2 separate regions of the Homo sapiens genome follow, and region 1 is linked to region 2. Evidence: promoter capture Hi-C in human tissues and cell types (Jung and others, 2019). All regions are on one chromosome and are shown on one strand. Each heading gives the region's core, a stretch centred on a gene start or on the middle of the fragment in contact. The rest is flanking DNA. Distances are from core to core; before and after follow the strand shown.

What was found. Contacts are between HindIII fragments. The study calls those that stand out against the background at their distance.
Region 1: a contact is called between a fragment that was not itself captured here and the fragment with the promoter of SLC26A9 in region 2, in 1 of the 25 tissues and cell types used here (dorsolateral prefrontal cortex).

The regions. Positions count from the first base shown.
Region 1 is chr1:205,726,267-205,734,080 of GRCh38, forward strand. It overlaps NUCKS1 (nuclear casein kinase and cyclin dependent kinase substrate 1), which reads right to left. Exons shown (of 7, transcript NM_022731.5): 2 at 3,306-3,355; 3 at 1,434-1,539. It overlaps LOC124900423 (small nucleolar RNA SNORA72), which reads right to left and starts at 5,086; the gene lies at 4,955-5,086. The HindIII fragment of the contact is 6,338 bases long and covers 2,125-7,814 here.
Region 2 is chr1:205,940,954-205,948,268 of GRCh38, forward strand. It overlaps SLC26A9 (solute carrier family 26 member 9), which reads right to left and starts at 2,503. Exons shown (of 21, transcript NM_052934.4): 1 at 2,412-2,503. All of the region lies in intron 2 of SLC26A9-AS1 (SLC26A9 and RAB7B antisense RNA 1), which reads left to right. The HindIII fragment of the contact is 4,976 bases long and covers 1,327-6,302 here.

The DNA of each region.
Region 1 (7,814 bases), core at 4,044-6,543, 210 kb before region 2:
GCACTTTGGGACGCTGAGATGGGAGGATCGCTTGAGCCCAGGAGTTTGAAACTAGCCTGGGCAACATGGCGAGAGCCCATCTCTATTAAAAACAAACAACAACAACTATGTTAGACATATACCAAGAAGCTCTAGAAGACTTGTTTCCCAACAGTATAATTCTGTATTATTTTTCCTTAAAAGCACACTTCTGAAATGCTCCAGCAAAAAAAGTATTAGAGGTTGTCAACATAAATAAAACTACTAGGTAAATACATGAATTTAATAATGATTTTGGTGCTCCAAGATTCTTAGAAGAAGCAGTGAGAAATATTTCATTTATTTGAACTGCTCATTTGTAATAGTATTATTTGGAAGTGGTATAGAGCTCCAATGGTTAAACAATGTACTTTGGAGTCCAACAGACATGGTTTCATAACCTGTTTGTCCATTTGCTGGATAACTTTGGTTAAATCACAGAACCCCTCTAAGAAGTTAATATTTACCCAAATAGAGATGATGTAAGAATTAAATGATAGTGTACGTAAAACACATAATAGAGATTGTCACATAATAAACAGTAGCCATCACCATCACTATAATCACCATTATCACCAAGAAGGTCTTGTTACACCAAGTGTAACAAGTTCATGTTACATCAAGTGTGAGAGTGTGTATAACTTTACTAACAAGGCAGAAATTACAATATCCTCGTCTTGTTGTTGTTTTTTTTTCCCAAGACAGTCCTGGCTCTGTCACCTAGGCTGGAGTGCAGTGGTGCAATCATAGCTCACTGCAGCCTTGAACTCCTGGGCTCAAAGGATCCTCCTGCCTCGGACTCCTGAGTAGCTGGGACTACAGGCAAGTGCCACCATTCCCGGCCAATTTTTAAATTTTTATGTAGAGATGTGGTCTCCTTATATTGCCCAGGCTGGTCTCAAACTCCCGGGCTCAAGCGATCCTCCTACCTAGGCCTCCCAAAGTCCTGGGATTACAAGCATGAGCCACCATGTACTCCTAATATCCTGGTCTTATGAGGCAAAATTATAGTTAAAATCACAACTCATTTGTAAAACTAAGGGAAAAGAAACTCTCCAAAATGGTTAAATTATTTAAACAAAGGAGAATTGATTATGAGACAGCAAAAGGCAGCAGGCTATACAACTTAAGATTCTACAAGCTTTAGTTGTAATTAATTGTGCCAGTGATTTGTGACTGAATGAGATATATCACTTATTTTTTGTTATCACTACAATGAAAGTGTCAGTATTAACCTTAGATAACAAATTGTATACTCGAGCACAGCCTGAGATAATATGAAATATGCAAAATATTAAGTGGACAGTAAGTACTTTTCAAAAGTATATGAGATTCCAACAATTTAGAGATCAGAGACTGCTCTCATCTCAGAGTGGTAACAGTGTAAGCAGGAACAGAAAAACAATGCCTCTTACCTATCTTCCTGTGAATTCTTTCCAGATCGCCTCTTATTTTTAGCTTCTCGGGGAGATGATCGAATTTTCTTAGTGGGAGGGCCCGAATCTCTTCCATAATCTTCATCTAAACAGTGTTTTTCAAACTTAATTAACTATGATTTTTACATGTTAAAATCACCACTATATTTACTGACATAATTATCTCTCATGCTGTTTAAATGGTGAGAGGAGCAGGATTTCCCAAATAGTTTCTTTCATCTTTAAAAAACTAAATTATTTCCCAACGCAGTCCTATCACCTTCACTTCGTTTTTGCATATTACCCTCTAGTCCTTATGATATATATTTCATCTTTCTATAGCTAAACCTCTCTCATCATTTTATACCCTCCCCTTTTGATTTCAACATCTTCACACTTATTTGAAAATTATTGTAATATGGTTATATTACAAACATTTTAGGAAGTAAACACAATTACTATTACTAAGCAAATTACTTTTAAACTAAAGCATTAAATACAACATAATCTTGCACTTGAAGAAAATATCTCCAATTTCAAAAGCCCTATAAAACTAAGGAAAATGACTCTACCTTAAAAGGAAATTATTTCCAAAACTGTTTACTGCACCATTTGCACACACACACATGCACACACACACACACACGATGGCGAGATGCTGGAAGTAGTCTGGAGCGTCAGCAATTATTAAGTGGTCAGAAACATTATAAATTCCATTATGGGATATTATATAACCATTGATAGGAATTTTTCAAATACCTTTTATTAACAAGATACTCAAAATAGAAATAATAATAGTATATCACACATTAACAGATTATTCTAAGTAAATATTAAATACAAACATTTGAAACAATTCCTGACATGTAGCAAGCATTTAATAAATATTAGTGCTACATATTATTTTTTTTCTCTTCTTCATATCTTTCAGTATTTTCTAAGTCTTCCCAAAGGGCACATATTATCTTTATAAAGAAAAGTTAGAATAAAAAGAAAGAAAAAAGAATAGTAAACATACCTGGAAAGTAATGAGATTAAGGAGACAACTCTGAAAAAACCTCTTATGGCTAAGACTTAGCTATACAACACTCATTCCTTGATGAATTAGTTCATAAATATAAGTTGTTTCACAAAACAGACTCTCATCTTAGTTGCTTTATTATGTAAAAACATAATACAAGGCACAAGTTTTATTGTAGTAACAGCAGGAGATTTTTTTTCCCCTGCAAAGTGCTGGGATTCATAGGCGTGAGCCACTGCGCCTGGCTGTAGTGGATTTTTTTTTTTGAGACAGGGTCTCTTTCTGTTGCCCAGGCTGGAGTGCAGTGGCGCCATCTCGGCTCACTGCAACCTCCGCCTCCCGAGTTCAAGCGATTCTCTTGCCTCAGCCTCCAGAGTAGCTGGGATTACAGGTGCATGCCAACACTCCCGGCTAATTTTTGTATTTTTAGCAGAGATGGGGTTTCACCATGTTGGCCAGGATGGTCTGGAACTCTTGACCTCAAGTGGTCCGCCCACCTTGGCCTCCCAAAGTGCTGGGATTACAGGCATGAGCCATGGCGACTGGCTGACAGCAGGAGATATTTTAAGCAATGAACACTGTATCAGAATTACTGGACATTTAAACTTTGGACTCCAAAACCAGGTAAGAAAAAAGCTTTTTAATGTTTATTATCAATGATTTACCAAGGAAAAGTTAAAATCCATGTAAGTTCAACTTTTGCTTTGGTTGACACAGATCATGACATGGTTTTGGTAAATGATCTAAAAATAAAAAAGTAAAACTTATTCCAAAAGCATAATAAAACTATATAAGCTGGTAACCTCCACTGGTCAGTCCAACTTAAAATTTGTTGAAACCACAAAACTTACCTGCATCATCAGATTCCTGAAACTGTGAGTAATCAACAACCTTCCTATTTCTGTAGAAAGAAGAGACTCTAATTAAAATCATAAAACTGTAGGATTTTTCTAAGACATCAGAACACACATTTCTCTTTCATAAACAGAACTGAACTAGCACTTTGAAAATTATTTAATTGCTGGACGTGGTGGCTCACACCTGTAATCCCAGCACTTTGGGAGGCCAAGGCTGGTGGATCATCTGAGGTTGGGAGTTTGAGATCAGCCTAACCAACATAGAGAAACCTTGTCTCTACTAAAAACACAAAATTAGCCAAGCGTGGTGGTGCATGCCTGTAATCCCTGCTACTTGGGAAGCTGAGGTAGGAGAATCACTTGAACCCAGGGGTCAGAGGTTGTGGTGAGCCGAGATACCTCCATTGCACTCCAGCCTGGGCAACAAAAGTGAAACTCCATCTCAAAAAAAAAAAAGAAAAGAAAAAAAAAGAAAATTATTTAATTAATTTTTTGAGACAGGGTGTCACTCTGTCGCCTAGGCTGGAGAGCAGTGACACAATCATGGCTCACTGCAACCTTGACCTACTGGGCCCAAGTAATCCGCCTGCCTCAGCCTCCTGAGTAGCTGGGACTACAGACGCATGCTGGCTAATTTTTTTTCATTTTTTGTAGAGACAGGGTCTCCTGGTGTTGCCCAGGCTGGTCTCAAACTCCTGAGCTCAGGTAGTCATCCTGCCTCAGCCTCCCGAAGTGCTGGGATTACAGGCACGAGCCACTGCACCCAGCCAAAAATTATTTTTTAAAGGCCCCCACTTAAGCCTAAGTACTTAACATTCTGTTATAAGAAAGCATAGCATAAACCACAAGTATGTCAAGCTACAATTCTCATACTGCTCATCTCAGTGATAATTCAAATACCATTCTTTTCTCTCTCTTTTTTTTTTTTTGAGATGAAGTCTTGCCCTGTCGCCCAGGCTAGAGTGCAATGGCGAGATCTTGGCTCACTGCAACCTCTGCCTCCCAAGTTCAAGCGATTCTCCTGCTTCAGCCTCCCGAGTAGCTGAGATTACAGGCGTGTGCCACCACGCCTGGCTAATATTTGTATCTTTAGTAGAGACGGGGTTTCACCATGTTGGCCAGGCTGGTCTCCCCTGATCTCGTGATCCGCCCGTCTTGGCCTCCCAAAGTGCTGGGATTACAGGCGTGAGCCACCGTGCCCGGTCTCAAATACCATTCTTTTCTACAAAACAATCTCCCGTCTCTCAAAACAAATATACATAAAACAGCAAAATGAGCCAAATCACCATGTACCTATGTATTCATTATATACAAAGATGCCCTATTTATAAGCTAAAGTTGTAAATGATATTTTACTCTTACTGCTACACACATATATATGTATACTTGATAAACAAGGTTATTACTAAGCTTTTCAAGGCAAAAGCAATTTTTAGGTATAGTACAGTTACATTATAATGCACAAAAATTATGGTAATGTTAAGCTTTATACAGAAGGGGAAGGAAACAAATTAATTGGTCCAGTCAAAAGATGCTTTATTTAAAAAACTATGAAAGCCTCACAGATTTATGTACATCTATGTATTTGACTCTATTCTTTTGTTTCTAAACTTTTTTTTTCCTTTTCCAATTTTACAGACCTGGTTTATCAGCAACATTTATAAAACTAGACCTCAGGAAAGAACTAGTTCTGGGGATATATGCATGGTCTTAATAAAGTGAATGGTTAGCCTGTCCTGACTATTACAAAATCAAAACAGTGAGAATATCTGCAGAATCTATTTGACTCTAAATGACTTTAAGTACTCCCTATCAAGTAACGTATCTTTAACATCTCAAACAAATCTTCATTTCTATTTTTGTACTCTGCACTCTAAATCTAAAAGTTTAATACTTCTTCTCTAGAGATATACATGTAAGCTTCCATGTTAGTACCCAAACAGCCTACCTGGCAAAAGAGCCTTAGATTAAAAAATGCACTGTTACTGTAGGCCTAAATTGATCAAGTGAACTTAAAAAATTAAGAGAAATAGGCCAGGCGCAGTGGCTCACGCCTATAATTTCACCACTTTGGGAGGCCGAGGCGGGCAGATCACGAGGTCAGGAGATTGAGACCATCCTGGCCAACGTGGTGAAACCCCGTCTCCACTAAAAATACTAAAAAATTAGCTGGGTGTGGTGGCGGGCGCCTGTAGTCCCAGCTACTCGGGAGGCTGAGGCAGGAGAATGGCTTGAACCCGGGAGGCAGAGCTCGCAGTGAGTGAGCCAACATCACGCCACTGCACTCCAGCCTGGGCGAAAGAGAGAGACTCCGTCTCAAAAAAAAAAAAAAAATTTAAGATAAATATACATTACCACCTATACTTAAACCTGAGCAGAGGGATATTCTTGGCTGTATAGATTAAGACACCATTTAAATTCAAAGACAGGATGGTCAGACTGCAAACACTGGTCCACCTTCTAGTATAGTATGTGGAGATGGTATGGATGGAGGTGAATTCTGGAAAAAAAGGCTTGGGCTTATATGTAGAGGAATATATAGTTACATACTCAGCATTAGAAAGAGAAAAAACAAGGCTCTTAAGGAGTTCCACCTTCTGTTTTTCTTTAGTTTAACAAAACTATAAAATATACTCCAACTATATATTTTATTGTAAGAAGCTGAGTTTATATTACCAAAGATACTATATTATTAGGAAAGCTAACTTTAAATATGACTATTAATTCCATGTACATGAGGGACCTAGAGTAGATGAATTCAGAGAGACAGAAAGTAGAGTGGTGGTTGCCAGAGGCTGGAAGAGTGGGGATGAGGAGCTGTTGTTTAGTGGGTTTAGTTTCAGTTTTGCAAGATTAAGAGTTCTTTACAACAATGTCAAGTACTTAACAATACTGAACTATACACTTAAAAATGGTTAACATGGGCCGGGCACAGTGGCTCATGCCTGTAATCCCAGCACTTTGGGAGGCCAAGGTGGGCGGATCATGAGGTCAAAAGATCGAGACCATCCTGGCCAACATGGTGAAAACCCGTCTCTAGTAAAAGTACAAAAATTAGCTGGGCGTGGTGGTGCGTGCCTGTAGTGCCAGCTACTTGGGAGACTGATGCAGGAGAATTGCTTGAACCTGGGAGACAGAGGTTGCAGTGAGCAGGGATCGCACCACTGCACTCCAGCCTGGCAACAGAGCAAGACTCTGTCTCAAAAAAAAAAAAAAAAGTTAAGATGGTAAATTTTATGCTAAGCATATTTTATTACAATAAAAATATATTTTCTTTCTTAAAAATATGACTATGAAAAAATCTAATATTTTTGGGCTACTATGGAAATGCCTGCCATGTTCTGGCAAAACAGTGATTTTTTAATGACAAATGCCATGAAAAATAGTATGATGATCATAATGCAAACACGACCATTTTCTGTATTATTTAGGATAAAAAAAATGGGTCATAGAACCAGGGGAAGAAAGGTATCTAGAAGAGGAACTCTTACATCTTATCCTCTAATAATTAAAATACAGGTTCCGAACTTGTAGGTATAATTCTAGCTTATCCCATGCTTGTGGGGTGGCAACTAACATATTATTACCCCATTTCTGGGTACGACGTAGCAATGGATATATCCTATGAAACTACATAAGGATGGACAACCAGAATGGTAAACGGTATATCATATGAAGAACAAATGAATAAATTGAGAATATTTAACTTGTAAAATGGGAAAACATGTTAGCTACTTTAGGGCTTTGATGTGAAAGGAGTAGTAGAGGTACAGCTTAGCTTTAGCAATCACATTAAGTGTAGGTTCAACATAAAGAGCTTTAACTGTCTGCTAACAATGGCTACTTCCTTACTCTATCACTAGAAACACTCAAGAAAGGAATTAGTATGGACTCTTTGTACTAGGAATCCTGGGTTCTGGTTCTAGAATGTCAAGAAAATCATGTAATTTCTCTGGGCCTTAGTTCTTCCTCTGTTGGAACTGATAACCTAAATTGCTTGACAGATCTAAAAGATATTCTATAAAATTAAATGTTTAAATAATAAATTAAATAATAAATAAAATATTTAATAAATAACATAAATGGCAGGCATTATATTAAAATATAATATAGAAAATGGTCACTGCAAATGATCATATTGCATTATGATCACAATACTGTTTTTCATGGCATTTGTCATTAAAAATTAACTGCCCTCCACAACAGAAGAAAACTTAATCTCCTCCTCCTTCCCTGTATATCTATCTGTATCTATCTAGACAGACCTACCTACCTATCTTCCATCTGTCCGTCCACCCATCCATCCATCCAACAATTGAGACAGGGTCTTGTTCTGTCATCCAGGCTGGAGTGCAGTGGCAGTCATAGCTCACTGCAGTCTCCAACTCCTGAGCTCAAGTGATCCTCCCACCTTAGCTTGTGGAACTACAGAAAGGCACACAGCCACCATGCCTGGCTAATTAAAAACAATTTTTTTTTTTTGTAGAGACGGGGCCTTTCTAT
Region 2 (7,315 bases), core at 1,253-3,752:
GAGGTTTCCCCTTTGCTCTAGCTGCTGGTTGCCTCCCTGCCTCATCCAGGGTGGGGGCCACAGGGTAAGAGCAGCCTCTGAGTGACCCAGGTGTGAATGTGAGCTGGGACAGACAAGCTGGCTGGGGTCTCAGTGGGAGACCACATCCATGGCAGGAGGAGGAAGGATGTAGAGGCCTCTGCACCCCTAAGGCTTTTTTGTTTGTTTGTTTTGTTTTTTTGTTTTTGTTTTTTGAGGTGGAGTCTCCCTCTGTCACCCAGGCTGGAGTGCAGTGGCACGATCTTGGCTCACCACAGGGTGCACTTCCTGGGTTCAAGCAATTCTCCTGCCTCAGCCTCCCTAGGAGCTGGGATTACTGGTGCGCGCCATGACACCCAGCTAATATTTTTTATATTTTTAGTAGAGACGGGGTTTCGCCATGTTGGCCAGCCTGGTCTCGAACTCCTGACCTCAAGTGATCTGCCCTCCTTGGCCTCCCAAAGTGCTGAGATTACAGGCTGAGCCACTGCGCCCAGCCCCCCAAGGCATTTTTAAACACTCCTTTTCCTTCTACTGTCCCTGTGTTTCCAGGGCAAATCTCTCCCTACTCCTCACCCCAGCCTAATTTCCTCCTCAGTGTAGGGGAGGATGAGATGTCCCTAAGGTGTCTTAGAGACTGCATCCCGTGTAGGAGAGAGATTCACTGATACCACCCCCCAAATCCCCACTCCTTATCTCCAGGCGAACTCTCCCTCCTCTGCACTTTCCCTGCTGGGAATGGGTGCTGGGCTGAGGAAATAGGCTCCAGAAAGAGGGACCAAGGCTAGACTTTGAGAATCACTTCCTAACAGCAAGACTGACAAGGTCATGGGCTCCCTGGAATGGGCACTTGAGGTTAAATTCCTAGAAGTCTTTAAGGAGACTGGGGTTGCTTTCACTTGGAAGCAGGGCCTGGGCAAGGAGACCAGTGAAGGGCCCAGCTGCTCTGGTCCCAGAAATCCAGGCGAAAGCCCAGAGAGGCATCCAGTGAAGATCAACTCCCCTTGAAGGGGTGGCTCTGCCCCTTCCATCTTCCAAGTAGTGACCCCACAGCCCCCAAAGCTTGGTCAGTGTTGAGCTGGTCCTCGATTCCCCCAGCAAGTTCACGGGGGTCAGTCTGGCTGTTTAGTACGGTTTAAGAGGCACTCTTGAATACTGGGTATATGCCAATCTCCGGAAGACTCTGGGCATTAAAAGATAAAGAGGAGTCCGTCTCTGCCCCAGGGTTTATACAAATGAGACTCAGAGAGCAGGTGGCTAGCTCTGGGAAGTGCCTGGGAAGGCCTTCCTGGCAGTGGAGGTGCTCTTGGCCATGCTGGTCTCCATGCTGCCCAAGCAGGGTCTTGCCAGGTTCTGGATGCCAGGGCCAGGATGAGGGAGGTGGGGGAGGACTGTGGGGTTCTGAGAAAGGGTCATCTGCATGAGTGAAGCCACTCAGGGGGAAAGCCCTCTCTCAGTCTGCCCACTTGGGGGGCTGCGTCACTCCAGGGTCTTCTGGTCCTCAGACCCGTGGGGCCAAGTGTAAGGGGGCAGTTGATGCTGGAATAATAGAAGCTTTGTTAGGTCTCAGCTGGGGACCCTCTGGGCTGGTTTTGAGGAATGGGGGCACTGCCTGAGAGTGGCTTGGAACCCCTTGGAGCTGCAGGATGAGGGGTTTGGAGGCTGAGAGCCTGGAGAGCTGGCTGCCCATCCACTGTCCTGGCCCAAGCCCTTCTGTGTTGAAGCATTCACCATTGAGTCGGGCGTCCCAGGTCCAGCTACCGCCCACCCGCCTGCCTGATGGAGCTGGTCCCTTGCTCACCCTCTCCCACTCCTCAGTTTCCTCCCCCTCCACCTCTTCCAACTTCTCAGGACTAATGGGGACACATGGGATTCTGTGTAGTCCATGCTAAGTTCCCCGAGCTGGTGGAGAAGTACATGAGTGAAGGAGGATGTCTGGGCGGTAGAAGGAGGGGGAGACAGCCATGCAGAGTAGGCTGGTGAGTCAAGCATTAAGAGCTTTTCCCTCCAAGACTTGAAAAGAAAGGGAGAGGAGCAGCCCACAGCTTCAAAGGCTGTCGCGGAGGAAGGTCTAACATTTTCCTTTCCCTCGGAGGCCTTTGCCTCGCTCTGTTTCGGGGTCTGGCGACCACCACACCCTCACCCTACTTGCTCCCTCAGTCAAGCCCAGCCTTGCAGCCCAGGTCCTTACATAGACGTGAAGACCCAAAGGGCTCCTCAGAGGGGAAGGGCTGGGAGGCTGCTCTCAGACTCCAGGGGCCAGAGTGTCCTTCCTACTTGTGCTCAGCTTGGCAGTTGGTTCCTGTCATCCCTCCTCTCGGTACCCCTGGTGACTGCCCTCTTGCAGGGATGACCCCAGCCCAGTGGGGTGGGCTGGGCTGGGTGGGGCTTACCAGTGGGTGAGCAAAGCCGGCTGGGCAGGGCTGCAGGTGTGTCTGGGGAGCGGGCAGCCGAAAGGTGTTCCTGAGGTGTGTGAAAGGGCTCTGCTCAAATAATCCAGGGAGGCGTTTATAAATAACTTTTCCTCAGGGCCACGGGGTGAGCCCCGGCTTCTGATTGGCTCAGAGGGGAAGTGGTTTTGAACACTACACCATAGCTAAGCCTGAGGAGATAGGAAAAGGAGATAAGGGGGAAAAGGTCCCAAATGAACAGCCCTTTTTTTGTTTTACCTGGGGAGCAGGGCTGTGTGATGGGAGCTTGGCACTTCCTAAATCCACCCCGAAGACAATAGGTCACATTCAGCGGGGCTCCTGCCCCACCGGCTCCCCCAAGGCGGCCCTGGAGGAGGGGGACGAGGCAGAGGAGGGGGACAAGGCAGGACAAGCTCCTCTGAGCTTGCTGTCCTGCTGCTTATGGGGCTGGGGGTCAGGCCAAAGAGCCTCTTGGACAATGGGAGCTATTGAGGCCACCTGAGGGGTGTGCTCTTGGGGATGCTTGCTTTGAAGATTGGAGATCTAGGGGGTGGGAAGACAGTAGTCCTCTGAACACCCCTGAGGAAGGGGAAGAACCATGTCTGGGAGGCCCTGGGAGCCTTTAGGCGGTTTTGGTTTGTGGTGGAGACCTGGTTCCCAGTTCTGTCCCCAATGTTAAGTTGCTTGTGAGCTCTGTGCCTTGGTCTATCCATCAGTGCAATGGGGGAAATTATTCCTGGCCCCTCAGGTAGTGTGCAAAGAGAACACAGGGGTTTAGAATCTGATAAAAGAGCTCAAGAAACTGGACTTAGAACAATTATATGAGAGGCGACCTGAAGGCTAGCAAATCTCCAGTCACAGCCCTCTGCCGCTTCTAGGAATTAATGTCTCCCTGGGTCATGGCACTGCTCCGGCTGCTGCCAGCAGAGCTGCCCATCCCAGGCCCATTGAGTGCTACGGAAGGACCTCAGAAAGCAATTGTGGACAGGGGCTGGGAGGGTGGGTAGGGGAGTTTCTTAATTTACTTCCTGGGAGGGAGAGTCACTACCCGACACCAGGTGCCCATTCTTTGAGACATCAAGTGCTGCACTGTCCTCGTCCTCAACTGTCCTCCCATCTCTCCAAAAGAAACCAGAGGCTCTGAAGTGGGCTGGAATCAGTGCAGGGGGCTTCAGTAAGGCACCTCTGGAAGTTGGGGCGAAAGTTCCCCATGGTGAAATGAGCTAGCTTCAGTACTTAATAGGGACTCAATAAATATTTGTTAAATGAATGAAAGAGTGAATTGTCTGCAAGCCCAACCCAAGGGATAGTTTGTAGATGCATTGCTTGTGGGGACTAGGGAAACACCCGAGGTCACTCAGAGTTGTCAGGGTGTAGCCAGACAACTGGCTGAAGAGAGCCAGAATTCAAGTGACCCAAGTGTGCCCTGACACCTGGCTGAGGGAAGGATGTGTGCATGGACACTGCCTCGGGGAGCCCTTCCCCAGACCCCTATGTGGACTTAGCTGACATGTTGCACATTCGTTCCTCTGGCTTCCTCTGCTTCACTCTCATAACACTGACCACAATTAATGGTAATTATGTATGGAATTGTCAGTCTTTCTGCAAACACCGTGAACTCCCTGAGGAGGGCAAGGGGGCAGTGCCTCTTTTGTATCCCTACCCACCTAGCCCAGTGCCCGGCACTTAGGAGGAGCTCAATATAGATTTGAGGAATGAATGAACAATTGTATGATAGAGTCTTTAAACAAAGCAAAGCCAGAGGGCGAGAATTTGTCCATGCATCTTCAGTATTGTCCAGTGTCATGGGTAGCCTGACCTGTTCTAAACTTTGCCCAGGAAATTCCTAGAAAGCAGATGAGTCATTATGTTCTTCCGATAGCCAGGTGACAGTGGCTATCAAGATCAAACAACTAAGTCCCCTTGCTGAGACACCATGTCCACCAGGGAATCTTCTGGTTGTATGTCCTTTAGGGCAGAGAATGCACTGCCCAGCTGGTTGGAGCGACTAGGGCTGCTTTTGCAGGCATGCTTCTCTTTTAAATGACCCATGGACATTCTGGGCTACCCATTGGTCCAGTGTGAGTTTTATTAATGTGAGTTAGTATCCCCTGAGTCTGACCTAGTTTCCACAGTAACACTTGGTTTTCCCACAGGTGATTTGGTTTAATTCTTATACCAAACATATAGGCATGTTACTGTCATTTTTTGATGAGAAAACTGAGTTGACTGAAGTGAAATCACTTATCCAAGATCACAAAGATCTGAATGGAAGAGGCAGGAATCTAACTTGGCTAAAATGGCTTCAAATCCTCTGCTTAGTCTACGATATCATCTTAACCTTTGAGCCTGCGAAGCTAAGGATGAGATCCTACAAAAGACCATACCTTTTAGATACCATTAGGCTCCCTTGCTGGTATAACTCCTAATGTAACCTGGATGAAGACGTCTGGGGCCTCCAGGATACATGCTGGAATTGGAAACTTGTTGTTTGTCCTCCTCAAAACTTTTCTACTGTCTCAGCAAAATTCTGGGCAGGTAGCCCTTGCATTATAGGGGCAGTAGGGATAGACGAACCCAGAGATTCCTCTGAAGTCACCAAGGAAGATGGACAGGGGCCTCAGAATCTGGGGCTGGTCATTGGTGGGAGGCCCAGGAAGGAGGAAACCAGATCAGAGGCTAGGGAAACAGAAGACAGAAGGGGGAGTGCCCCGATGGCTGAAAAGGCATCTTAGGGGTATCTTGGGTAGAATTAAAGTGTGGACAAATTTAGGGTTGGTGGAGGGAACACAAAGATATGGAGAGATAGGTGACAGAAATAGAAACACAGAGAAAAATGATGGAGACAAAGACTCAGAAACAGAGAAAGGAGCCAAGGACACATTAACAGCCATAGCAGCTCAGCCTAGAGTTTTGCTAAATCATTTGTGTTTCATGATGAAAGCGATGAACAGCAACCCTATGCCTCTCTCTGGAGCAGGAGAGAGAATCCTTCGGAAGCAACCTACTTCACCCCCAGCCCTAGGGTGGGATGCTGCATTCATTCATTCATTTATTCATTCACTGGAAACCCCTTATCAAGTGCCAGGATCCTGTCCTGGGGAAAATGAAATAAATCAGACACAATCTCTGTCATGAAAATATCTCACAATCTGGTGAGGAAGACAGGAAGGCGAAGAAACCATTGTAGCATGGAACATAGGGTGCTATGGGAGTACAGGGGAGAGGTGCCCAGATCAGCCCTCCAGCGGACAGAGAAGGAGCCGGGAAGTCTTCCAACAAGAGGAGGGCAGGAAGCTCAGTCACAGCTGTAGCCTGGACACCTGAGCTATAGACCCCAGGTGGGGAAGGACTCCCAGGAAGAAGTAGGATGGCGGCTGCCCCTGAAAGCACTGTTTCTAGAAGGGATTTCCAGCTTGTTCCCAAGTCCTCTTTGACTTCTGAACGCACCCAAGATTCTCTGCCTTAAAGCCCATCCCTGTGTTCCCCTGTGATCCAAAGCTTGCGACCACACACACACACAGTCACACTGAACAGTCACACGTAACACTGAGTTATGCAGATAAACCCAAAGTATTCCTAAGGTTCCCTCCTGACACATCTCACCTCTGAGCTGATCTTGCTAAGAAACAGCTATTTTTCAGATGAGCAAACTCAGGCTAGACCTGCAAAAAGGAGACAAATTCTGCCACCTCTGTCTATCCTTGAGCCTCTGGTCTTATCTGCACCTGCTGGCTTCTTGCACGTGTGCCCTGTGTGGGTGCCAAGGGTGTGGGCAGAAACATGTTTTGGGCAGAGCAGCCCAATGACTTAAGCAAATACCTTAAGGCTAAAGACAGCAAAGTCTTCACCACCCTGCCCTGCAGTGGCAGGATCTGGCCTGGCCCTGCGCGGCTGCCAGTTTCATGAGTGCTTGAGGACTGGTGGGACTGCAGAGGTACCCAAGGAGAAGCGAATCCTCACTTCTCTCCCCTGGGAAGCCCAGGGGCTCAAGTACCCCAGCTGTGAGTATCTTAGGCTGGTCAGGAGACATGGAAGGCAAGGTGAGTAGGGTGATGCCAGCCAGTGCTTGGTCTTTCAACACAGGGAACTCCTAGCATGTGCCCAGCACTGTGCTAGGCACTGGGCACGCCAGACCCAGTGAGAACCAGTCCTTGGGAGATCAAGACCCTGGCAGGAGCAGGCAGAGGAGGCTTCTAGAATACACACAATGACAGAGCTGGGGGACAATATGTTAGGAGGAAGCTTAGGGTGGACTCTGAGGTGGCGAGGGTCTGGACAGTTCTTGTCTGGAGACAGTCAGGTCAGCATTGACCATGATCCCTGCACATCTGAGGCCGGAGGAAAGGACGTGGCACAAACCATAGAACGGGAGACAAGGAAGGGGCCTTAGGGTCCATCTGGTTCACCTCCCTCATTTTACATATGAGGGGGCCAGGGACCTGCCCAAAGTCACCGAGAGAGAGATAATGGCAGAGCTGAGGAGATGGCTCAGGTCGGTGCCTGCTTCAGGACCCCATCCTATCCCTCCACCCTGGCCCTGGAGCACAAACCGAGCCCTCTCTCCACAAAGAGGGCAAGAAGTCATGTGGGGACCTCCTCCCACTCCCCATTCGGTCATTACCCAGACACACCCTGGGCTCCGAGGTGGGCATATGCCAGCTGCCGCTGCAGAGGGACTGTTCTGCCCATCTGAACTCGGCACTCCTTTAGGAGTGGTTTAGGGTTGGGGTTGGGGGTGTGGGGGAAGCAGGTCTGCAGTGTCAGGGCTTGGGAGCCCAGGAGGATACAACTCCTAGGTGGGCGGGTCCTGCAGCTTCTAGAAAGAGGAAATGATTCTGCTCAGAACCAGAAATTGGCCTGGGTGAGGGTGTTCAGGGCAGTTC